3 separate regions of the Homo sapiens genome follow, and all the other regions are linked to region 2. Evidence: promoter capture Hi-C in 16 types of primary human blood cells and fetal thymus (Javierre and others, 2016). All regions are on one chromosome and are shown on one strand. Each heading gives the region's core, a stretch centred on a gene start or on the middle of the fragment in contact. The rest is flanking DNA. Distances are from core to core; before and after follow the strand shown. Region 1 has its middle 11 kb from the start of LINC01700. Region 2 holds the start of ETS2 (ETS proto-oncogene 2, transcription factor). Region 3 has its middle 7.5 kb from the start of LINC02940.

What was found. Contacts are between HindIII fragments. The CHiCAGO score rates a contact against its expected background, and 5 or more counts as called.
Region 1: a contact is called between a fragment that was not itself captured here and the fragment with the promoter of ETS2 in region 2, in 7 of 17 cell types (M0 macrophages, megakaryocytes, M1 macrophages and 4 more). The highest score is 12.1, in M0 macrophages.
Region 3: a contact is called between a fragment that was not itself captured here and the fragment with the promoter of ETS2 in region 2, in 11 of 17 cell types (endothelial precursors, M1 macrophages, megakaryocytes and 8 more). The highest score is 19.0, in endothelial precursors.

What each region holds. Positions count from the first base shown.
Region 1 is chr21:38,964,615-38,968,048 of GRCh38, forward strand. No RefSeq gene overlaps it. Among named protein-coding and RNA genes, the nearest start is that of LINC01700, 11 kb to the right of the region's middle. The HindIII fragment of the contact is 2,334 bases long and covers 241-2,574 here.
Region 2 is chr21:38,804,162-38,807,973 of GRCh38, forward strand. It overlaps ETS2 (ETS proto-oncogene 2, transcription factor), which reads left to right and starts at 1,768. Exons shown (of 10, transcript NM_005239.6): 1 at 1,768-1,959. RefSeq lists enhancers at 567-1,067, 601-740, 921-980, 991-1,150 and silencers at 1,261-1,590, 1,611-1,680, 1,871-2,160, 2,271-2,370, 2,391-2,490. The HindIII fragment of the contact is 4,522 bases long and covers 1-2,939 here.
Region 3 is chr21:39,025,043-39,028,517 of GRCh38, forward strand. No RefSeq gene overlaps it. Among named protein-coding and RNA genes, the nearest start is that of LINC02940, 7.5 kb to the left of the region's middle. The HindIII fragment of the contact is 2,234 bases long and covers 925-3,158 here.

The sequences.
Region 1 (3,434 bases), core at 158-2,657, 160 kb after region 2:
TCACTCTCACTGAGCTGTTTTCTATTGCACTCACAGGTATTTAAATGTGCTGCGTTTACTCGTTTGTTTGTGTACTTATTGCCTGAATTGTGACCTCCATGGAAACATCGACCTTGTCACTGGGCCTCTCTTCCGACATCCTCATGCCTAGAACAGCGCTTGGTGCAGTGGCCGCTTTGGGGTATTTATGGAAGAAGAGAGAGAGAAAAGGAATTTCTAAGTTTGGCTTCTCCTTGAAGAAGCTTCCAAAGGCGTTTCTAGAACACTTAAAATATGTGAAAATAAGGGCTACCTAGGTTATATGTTAAATGAATTATGCTAAAGAAGACTCAGCAGTTGCTAACTTTTCTCATCTGCTCTTAAATATCCCATTCTGCTGTTTCAAATTAGAAACTCAGAGTTCCAAAACAGTGAGATCGTTTACTTCTTTTTCTAAAAAAAAAAAAAAAAAAAAAAAAGGCATTGGAATAACGGAAGTACTTTAAGAATCTATGGGGCAAGAATAGAAGCTAGTCATCGTTGTCTGTATAAACCAAAAATAAAATTCTAATGCCCCTCAGCTATCTGAACGGATCCCCCCTCTCGGCCAAGGGCCTTCCAGAGTTAACCTGAAAATCTAGTTCAGGCCAGGACGGGAAGTGGGGGTCAGACATGCCTCATCACCCCAACATCAACACAGACCTTCAGTCTGACAAGAAACATGTACAATATCTTGTTTCTGAAGCCTGCTACCTCGAGGCTTCCTCTGCATGATGAAACCTTGGTCTCCACAACCTTTCATCGTAACTCAGACATTCCTTTCTATTGATAGTAACTCTTTCAACCAATTGCCAATTGGAAAATGTTTACACGTGCTTATGACCTGGAAGTCACCCTGCCCCCGCCACCAACTTCGAGTTGTCCCACCCTTTCAGACAGGACCAACGTACATCTCGCAAATATTGATTGATGTCTCATGTCTCCCTGCAATGTATGGAAGCAAGCTGTGCCCCACCATCTTGGGCACATGTCCTCAGGACCTCCTGAGGCTGTGTCACGGGCGCATTCTTAACCTTGGCAAAATAAAACTTTCTAAATAGATTGAGACATGTCCCCGATACTTTTGGGTTCACGTCTGTCACTGAGATGGTAACTGTGGTCATTTGAATACCCCCTCACATTATCCTCATCTCGTCACAGCAGCCCTATTCATCTGGCAAATTGAGGGGGATCACTTGGAATATTATGTTTTTATTAAAAATACGATTTTGGTTTTCTAAGAGATGCTCTGGGCTGCTCTAAACCAGGGACTGCAGGGCCCACCTGTTTCTGCAAATGAGGTTTCATTGGCACTCAGCCAGGTCCATTTATTTACACATTGCCTAGGCTCCTTTCTAGAGCTGAGTTGTTGCGTCAGGGACCACATGGCCTTCAGAGCCTAAAATATTTACTCTCTGGCCCCTTAAGAAAATGTTTGTCAGCTCCTACTCTAAACAAAACCCCTGGCCACATGGCCTCTGGCGCTGCGTTAAGGTCTTTGCTGTGCCCTTTGCGGACACGGACACGCTAGGGATGAACTGACTCAGAGCCGGCCAGTTTCAGGCTCCTTCCTGGAGCGATAGGAACCTGTAATTCTCAGCCCATGTGACCAGTACTGGCCAATGAAATGCAAGCGGAACTGACCTGCGCCTCCAGGCTGAGGCAGTGAAACGCTCCTGAGCCTTTCCCCAGTCTCACTCTTCTCCCCTATGGCAACCAGCAAACTTCCAGAGAGCGGAGGCAGGGGCCCTGCACGGGGTAGAGCGCAGACTCCGCCACTGCCTACCTATGATGGGCTTGCAGTGAGCAAGAAATCAGCTGTTGCATATTATGGCACTGAGATTTTTAGGGTTGTTTGTTACAGCACGATAAGCCTAGCTCATTCTGACTAGGATGGTGGTCTTTTTGCTGTCATAATTAATTTCCATTTCTCAGGGTTTAAAAGGGTGCACTGCCCCCCCCCCCCCCCCCCGCAGATCTCAGGTGGGCATTTTTGAACTTAACTAGATAACAAAACACAGCTAAGACAAGTCCTTTTCTCCAGCAAAGATGGCAATGCTCTAATAACTCTGAGCATATTAAAGATTCTCCAAGACTCTAGCCTCTGCTGCAAAAACACATACAAATACCTACTACTACTGCTGCTGTGATGATGATGATGACAGCAATAGTGAGAATATTTTAAATATGCCAGGCACGGTGGCAACTGCTTTCCAAATATTATCATATTTAATCTGATCATTGCCCTATGAGGTAGGAAGTATTCTGATTCCCATTTTATAAATAAGGAACCCGAGGCTTAGAGAGCATCAGTGACTTGTTCAAGGTCACCCACAGCTGTCAAGTGACAGAACTTCGATAAAAATCCAGACTCCTTTAATGGAGTATGGAGGGAGGTCAGAAAACATAGGAAGTAAGGGATTGTGATTGACAATGCGTCCTTGCAAAGGGACAGGTTAAGAGACACAAGGGCAGCTGTCTGAGGTGTGCCATTCACCAGCTTCAGGAGAGAAGTGGCAGGCTACCTCCAGCTATCCAGCCCTATCCAGCCAAGGAAGCTTGGGAGACATGTTAGTTCCCGCCTTCATTTCCATCAGCAACCTCAAAGCCACCCCTTGATATGATGAAAATAACATTGTTTGATAAAGAGTTGATATTCTCAATCTTATGAAAATGTGGATTAAAGCATCTTACTGATTTATTTAATCTGAAACAAAACAGCTGTTAAAGTGAACTAAATATGGTCTGAGAAGGACTCCGTACTTCTTTTTTTTTTTTTTTTTTTTTTTTTTTTTTGTAGATGGAGACTTGCCCTGTTGCCCAGACTGGAATCCAGTGGCACAATCTCGGCTCACTGCAGCCTCCACCTCCCAGGTTCCAGTGATTCCACTGCCTCAGCCTCCCGGGTAGCTGGGATTACAGGCACACACCACCACGCCCAGCTAATTTTTGTATTTGTAGTAGAGATAGGGTTTCACAAGTTGGCCAAGCTGGTCTCGAACTCCTGACCTCAGGTGATCCAGCCACCTTGGCCTCCCAAAGTGCTAGGATTACAGGCGTGAGCCACTGCGCCCAGCCAGGGCTCCATACTTCTATATTTGAGTCCTTGTGGATGAACTGCAACCTAGCTTAATAGGTAGACAAGATTGAAAACCTAACTTAGGAGTATGCGCCCGGAACAATAGCTGAGTCTTGGCCAAGCCCAGCGGCCGTACTTCAACCACTCATATGCTGCTGAGTCTTTAAGCTGTGTTCAAATAAGGCAAACACCATACTGCAACCAATCCAGCCATCCTGTACCTCACTTCCAATTTCTGTACATCATTTCCCTTTCTTTGTCTATAAATCTTCTTCCACCACGTGGCTGCATGGTAGTCTCTGCTGTGACTCTGGGGGCTGCCCGATTTGCGAATCGT
Region 2 (3,812 bases), core at 518-3,017:
CCACTCAGGGAGCCCATCAGCGACTCAGGGAGCCCTGGAGCACCTGGCACTCAGCACCCATGAACACGAGGGCAGGCATGGTGGGACAAGGCAGTCTGCTTGGGGCAAGTGAGCTTCGGGAAGTAGCTGAGCTTTGGGGAGCAGCTGTCTATACCCAGCTTCTCAGGGCTGTGCAAGTAGCCTGAGGGAGAAAGACCCTATATTAGCTGAAACTGCAGCCCAGATGAGTCAGTATTTTCTGCTACGGTTTTTTAAAAAAATAGTAACATACTCATGTCTCCATGGTAACTTACTATGGATCTGTATTCCATTTATGGAACTCTTTCTTGACCTATCTGTGTTCTCTAATCTGGGCCTGAATATACACTGAGAAGCCATCAGAATCAATTCAGTCTCCAAGAAATAATCACTTCCCCTATACGTGATTGTTTCAGCCGTATAGATTCTGACTGTGACTCATGCCACGGTGATACCCGGAGACCTTCGGGGACCCAGAAACATTAAGGTGCACCGATATCTCAATTATCCGGATAACTCTAGACCTAGAGTCACCATGGAAACCTAGAACCCTGAGTCACAGAGAAGCTGGGCCATTCCTCTCCCTTCCCGGTGGTGCCGCAGTTCTTGAGATGTGAGCAGCTTTCAGCCCCGTGGCCTCGCCTAAGCTGGGGTTTCCTATTTCATCCACAACTTCAGGAATCTAAACTTTCCTGCAAAATATTGAGCATGTGACCTGAGTCCAAACAGCCATGGACTCAAGCACCTTCTGATAAAAACGGAAACCACAGTGTAGGGGGTGGTTTTGACCAGGGTTTCGGAGTCAGATAAACTCAGGTTTCCACCTTGAATTTCTCATCAATCTGACGTGGCAGGTTATTCATCCTAAGGTTCAGTTCCCACCTGTGTAAAGTGGGAGCCGCAAGTCCTCCGAGAGTGACGATGATGTGCGTGGAGTGCCCAGCCCAGATTGAAGCGCGGCCAAGGCGGGTCGCTATCTGGGCACCGCTCAGCTCCAGAGGGCGCCACTCCCGCGGAGCCTGCGGGATCGGGGCTTCCCGGGAGCAGCGCGATCAGCACCACGACTCGGGGACACAGCCAGGGCCCGGTTTCTACAGGAAGCGCCTCATTTGGAGCCTTTTTGTGATAGAATGATCATTAGTCCTAAGCCCATTCAGAGGTTCAAGAATGGGGTCGGCTCAATTTCAGGGCCTTATTACCCAAGCCCGGCTGCCCTTCGGTGCCACCAGCACCACTGCTCCGTCGCTGCGGAATTCCAAAGGCAGGTTTGGCGTTAGGGCCTTGGCCCCAGAGAGGACGCCGAGCGCTCCACGGAAAGTCTCCGCCCGGCTCCCAGGGCGCACACTCGCGCGCACGTGGGGCCGAGGCCCTGCTCCCGGGGCCTCAGGGCCAGCCGGCGAGGGACCCAGCCGAGTGACAGCAGGAGGCGGAGGGAAGGTTGGGCCGGAAGGTGTCAGCCCCGCCCCGCGCTCCCTCGCCGCCTCCGCCCTCCTCTTCTCTCCCCTCGTGCGTTCCCTCTCCTCTCCCTCCGCTCCCCCAACCCTCCTGCTGCCCCCTTCCCTCTCCTCCCGCTTCTCCCCATCCTGCCTACCTCCCTTCCCCTCCTCTTCTCTCTCCTCCCCTTCCCTCCCCTCTCTCTTCTCTCCTCCCTCGTTTCCTCCCCTCCCCTCCACTCGGCCGTCCCTCCTTCCTCCTCCCTCCTCCCTCCTCCTCCCGCTCCTGAAGAGCGCGCCGCGTGGGGGACGGCCCGGTTACTTCCTCCAGAGACTGACGAGTGCGGTGTCGCTCCAGCTCAGAGCTCCCGGAGCCGCCCGGCCAGCGTCCGGCCTCCCTGATCGTCTCTGGCCGGCGCCCTCGCCCTCGCCCGGCGCGCACCGAGCAGCCGCGGGCGCCGAGCAGCCACCGTCCCGACCAAGCGCCGGCCCTGCCCGCAGCGGCAGGGTAAGAGCTGGGCCCGCAGAGAGCGCCCGGCGCGCGGCTCCAGTCCCATGGAGGGTCACCCGGGGCCTGGGCGGGGGTCGCGGGGGGCACTGACACGCAGATCTCGGGGCGCTGCCGGGGGTGCAGGTGGGGGTGGCGGCTGCTGCGAGGACTCTAGGGGCGCGCGTCTGAGTTCCGCGCCGGCTCGTTTTCCGGTTATGGAGTGGCCTCCGGGGCTGGCGGGGTCGGCCGGGGGGTTCCTGCGTGCTAGGGCCGCTGTCTTCGGGGTCGCCTAGCGGCGGGCGCGGCCAGGGCGCGCTGGCTTGTTTCGCTCGCTTTTGTTTTTAAAAGGAAACGCAGGCCTGGTAGGGGGTCCTGCCCAGTGGATGTCCCGGCGAACATGATTTCGCGAACGGGAGTGGGGGCACAGGAGAGCGTGTCCGAGGTGGCCTGGCGCCCCGGCTTTGAGGGTGACTTCCTGGAGCGGCGCCGGGCCCGGAGGATCTGGGGCGCCCAAGACACCTGAAGGCTGCGGCACCGCGGGAACCTGCGGGGCGCGGGGTGCCATGGTCACCTGCTCGCCGCGTCCAGGGCCCGGGCTGGGGACCCCTCGGTCGTGCGAGGAGAGCGTGGGGAACCTGTCGGAAATGAGATCTGGTTGCGCTGGGCTGCCTTTATTTTCTCGTTCCTACAGCATTTGAATGAAGAGGTAACTGAGTGTTTGCTTGTGTGTGTTTGGGTTGCGTGTGTGTTATCCTATTTTATTTTTTACGGCAGGAGACCTTTTATGTTAGCCTGTACACAATTTCAGGGTAGCCTAAAACAGTAGTTGACGCGCTAGTTATTTAGAAAGTAAAGAAATGAGCAGTCCCCTTTGGAGACAGGAGTAATTTATTTTAATTCGCCAGTAAGAGATTATATTTGTTCCATACAATGGAAGCGCCTGTGCGTTATCTGCCTGCCCACACCACCACCAATCAGAGAGATAAATCTCCACGTTAAGCTTTATTAAAATTCTGAGTAGTAGCGCAGCACAGTAAATGTTAGCACCGACCATCCGCAGGGAAATGCTCAGATACTCATTTCTGGGATTAGTCATTCATCTCTCTAAACTGATCGCTTTCAAAGCGAAAAAAGCAAACTACCTTCAAATGTGTGTTACAAGGTTGTGTTGTTTCTTTTTTTTGTTTGTTTTCAAATTTATCTAAATAATCTTACATAAGTGATTACTTGTTCCAATAAGGGTACTGTTGTCAGGCAAATTCTCCTTGTTTTTAAATGTAACCATTCTCAGCTGTTACATTTCTGCTCTTTATCCTTTTTTTTTTTTTTTTTTGGTTTAAAAGCAGCGATCCATCAGCAACACCAAACTTGAAATTGATTTATGTGGAAAAACTTGGCTTGTCTGCCATCTAACAAGCCCTGTTGAGTAAAATAAGCAAGCTTAAATTTGATTAGTTGTGTGTCTGCCTGAAACCATTTAGTAGAGCACTTTAATTCTGCATGGTTTTTACAAAACTCATTAAAAGCTGGACAACAAAAGAATTCTATTCTGTAGCTAGTAATTACAGCTCTTTATGTGGGAGTGGTAGGCTGCCTTTTCTCCTGGTATTTGTACACAAAAGCTGGGGAGAGCTTTTCCACTGCCTTCCACATTCATTCTCTGTCCATCTCAGAGAAGCTGAAAAACAGAATCAAGTCAGCAAGCAGTCTGCAAGCCTAAGGAAGAAAAAGAGCTGACCCATCCGGCTCTGGATGGATAACTGGCAACACCCAAGATGTCTATGATTTTGGCCTTCTGTTTGAGGCTTGTTTATTTCTTTAATCAGCAGCTACCAGGACTTATTTCATGCAGAGAAATGACATAAAGCTCT
Region 3 (3,475 bases), core at 792-3,291, 220 kb after region 2:
CACCATGCCTGGCTAATTTTTTGTATTTTTAACAGAGACAGGGTGTCACCATGTTGGCCAGGCTGGTCTTGAACTCCTGACCTCAGGTGATCTGCCCACCTCGGCCTCCCAAAGTGCTGGGATTACAGGTGTGAGCCACCTGCAGCCGGCCTGCACTTAGTTTTCTAAGTGCACATTAGGCGAAACATACATCCCTTCCACCTCTGAGGGCAGCTGGGGTACTGACACAGCTGAAATGAATGTGTTAGGCCATTTTTGCATTGCCATAAAGAAATATCTGAGGCTGGATAACTTTAAAAAAAAAAAAAAAAAGAGGTTTATTTAGCTCACAGTTCTGCAGGCTGTACAGGAAGTGTGATGCCAGCATCTGCTCAGCTTCTGGGGAGGCCTCTGGGAGCTCTCACTCATGGTGGAAAGCAAGGGGGTGGGGTACACACATCACACTCGAGAGCAGGAGCATGAGAGAAAACGGGAGGTCCCAGACACTTTTGAACAACCAGATCTCACGTGAAATGAGTGAGAACTCGCTCATCACCAAGGGAATGGTGCTAAGTCATTCATGAGGATCCACCGCCATGACCCAACACCTCCCACCAGGCCCCACCTCCAACATCTGGGATCGAATTTCAGCATGAGATTTGGAAGGGGCGAACATCCAAACAGTAGCAATGTCCTAAGGATGCAACCCCCCCACCCCCCGGAGAACTCTACGGCATTCTAATGAAACGGTTCGCCCTTCATGTTATTACAGAGCAAGGCTGCATTTCCATCATTGTCCTTTTAAATGCTTAAGTGAGCCCAGTTACCAATCAATACTACTGACAACAGGAAGAGGAAAAGAAGGAAGAATCAGCGATACAAAGAGCACAAAGTCAAAATGAGTCCAACCACTGGACATGGGTGTCACTGGCAGAAACTTCCAGAAGCTTGGTTCAACATTACCTGCCACAGGCTCAACCTTAAGGCTTTGAGCTGATACAAGAACTCCAAGAATTGTTTCCTGGCACAATTTCACTCATTTGCCAAGTTCTACAGCGTGGGAACCTGCAAAGCCTCCCCATCTCATCACCACTACGTGACCCATTCGTTCCACACTGGCCTACGGGGCGTCCATCCAGGGAGGCGTGTAGCTGTGGCCAGGATGCAGCAGAGGACATCTCGGAGTCCCTGCCCTCATGGGCTCCTGGGACTGTGAAGGGGACAGTCAACAAACAGAAGAGTGCTGGGAGTGTCAAGAGGTGATGATCGCCCAGAGGAAAAGACAAGGTGAGAGGGGAGCCCAGCCCAGGGTCGAGTTCTCGGGGGCGGGACGTTTGCACAAAGATGCTGTGAAGTGTGGGGGGAGCAAGCATTCCTGTACTCAGGGGACAGAATGTCTCATCCAAAAAGGACCAGCAGGTGCTTCCAGGAACATCAAGAAGCAGGTGTGTCTGGGGCAGAGCAAGTGAGCAAGAGACAGGAGGAAAGAGGCCAGAGGGAGGCTGGGGCCAGAACAGTCAGGGCCTGGAAGCAAAGGTCCAGACTCCAGATTTTATTCTTCGTGAGAAGGGGGCCGCTGCAGGGCTTTGAGAAGGCAGTGTCACTTTTTTTTTTTTTTAAATAGAGTCTTGCTCTGTCACCCAGGCTGGAGTGCAGTGGCATGATCTCAGCTCACTGCAACCTCTGACTCCTGGGTTCAAGTGATTCCCCTGCGTCAGACTCCCAAGTAGCTAGGACCACAGCTACATGCCACCACGCCCAGCTTATTTTTGTATTTTTAGAGACGGGGTTTCACTATGTTGGCCAGGCTGGTTTCAAACTCCTGACTTCAGGTGATCCTCCAGCCTTGGCTTCCCAAAGGGCTGGGATTACATGTGTGAGCAACCGAAACCAACCAGCAGTGTCACCTTTAAAGGGATATCTCTGGATGCTGTGTAGAGAACAGCTGGGGTATGGTACCCAGAGTGAGGAAGGGGCCAGGGCAATAGCTGTGGGGTTGCTGAGAGGGGGCAGACTCTGGACAATTGTTGAGGGATTTGCACAGAGCATGCCAGGATTCAACAAGCCCAGCATGTCCACCTTTGGAGCCAGGACCCCAGGGGAGCCACAGCAGGGCCAGAGCAGAGGAGAGAGAAGACACACTGGGATCCATCAGCACCTCTGCCTCCATCCATTGATTTTCTGAGACTCACACTAGTTCCTCTTGAGGGGTTGTTATGTAAAATACAGGATGCCCCACTAAATTTGAATTGCAGATCAACAGTGGATAATTTTTTAGGCATAAGTATTTCCCATGCAATACATGGGATATGGTTACACTGAAAATTTGCTATGATTGATCTGCATTCAACTTTAAATAGAAGTTCTGTTATTTTGTTTGTTAAATGGGCCAAGTTCTATCAGAACTCCCCAAAAAAGGAGACTCTGGAAAATGTATTCCCAGCTTGACCAAGACAGAGCTCCTGTCCCCAGGAACTGACAAAAACAACCACTACCAACACTGAGTGCTTACCATGCACCCAGCACTGTGCCCACATGTTCAGCACTTCATCTAATTCCACAGCCCAGAGGATTACATTTTATTACTACTGGTTTGCAGATGAGAAAACTGAGGTTCACAAAGATACGCCAACTTACCAAAATTACACAGGTGGGCATAATAATAGCTAACACTTACACAGCACATGTAAGCTCAGGCATGGATCTAAATGGATCTCACTTAATCCTTTTTCACAGCTCTATGAGACAGGAACTGTTATTGAACCCATTTTACAGATAAGGAAACTAAATCGTATTGGTGTTAAGTGGCCCAGTCAGGATTTGAACCCAGGCAGTGTGGCTGCAGAATCTGTGCTCTTACCTAGCATCTTAAACTACCACTGAACCACTTCTGAGGCCACCTCCCCACTCTTAATGAAACAACATTAATGCACAAGAAACACTCAGAGAGTCCTAGTGGCAGGAATGGGGCAAACTGACAACAGAGGAGATGGAAATCATTGAGGATTGGGGGAACCTAGGGAGGGTTCATGGAGGAGGAGGCAGACAAGTAGGATATCTGAACAGTTGGAAGATGTGGCAAAAGGGAGGCTGACTAAACACCCATGTTAGGAACTATAAATACATGAAGTAAATATCACTGATTACTGAGTTCTTCATATAAGCCAGGTGCTGTACTAAGCTTAGAATTTATCTCCCTCTAGACTGGGTAATACAGTGAGACTCCATCTCTACAAAAAATTGAAAAATTAGCCAGGCATGGTGCTCATGCCTGCAGTCCCAGCTACTCAGGAGGCTGCAGTGAGAGGATCCCTTGAGCCCAGGAGGTTGAGGCTGCAGTGAGCTGTGATTGCACCACTGCTGTCCGGTTTGGGTGACAGAGCAAGGCCTTTGTCTCAAAGAAAAAAAAATACCTCTCTCAGTCCTTGAAGTCATCCCCAAGGCAATATGGTCCCCATCTTGCACACTAGAAAACTGGGATTCAGGGAGGCCAAGC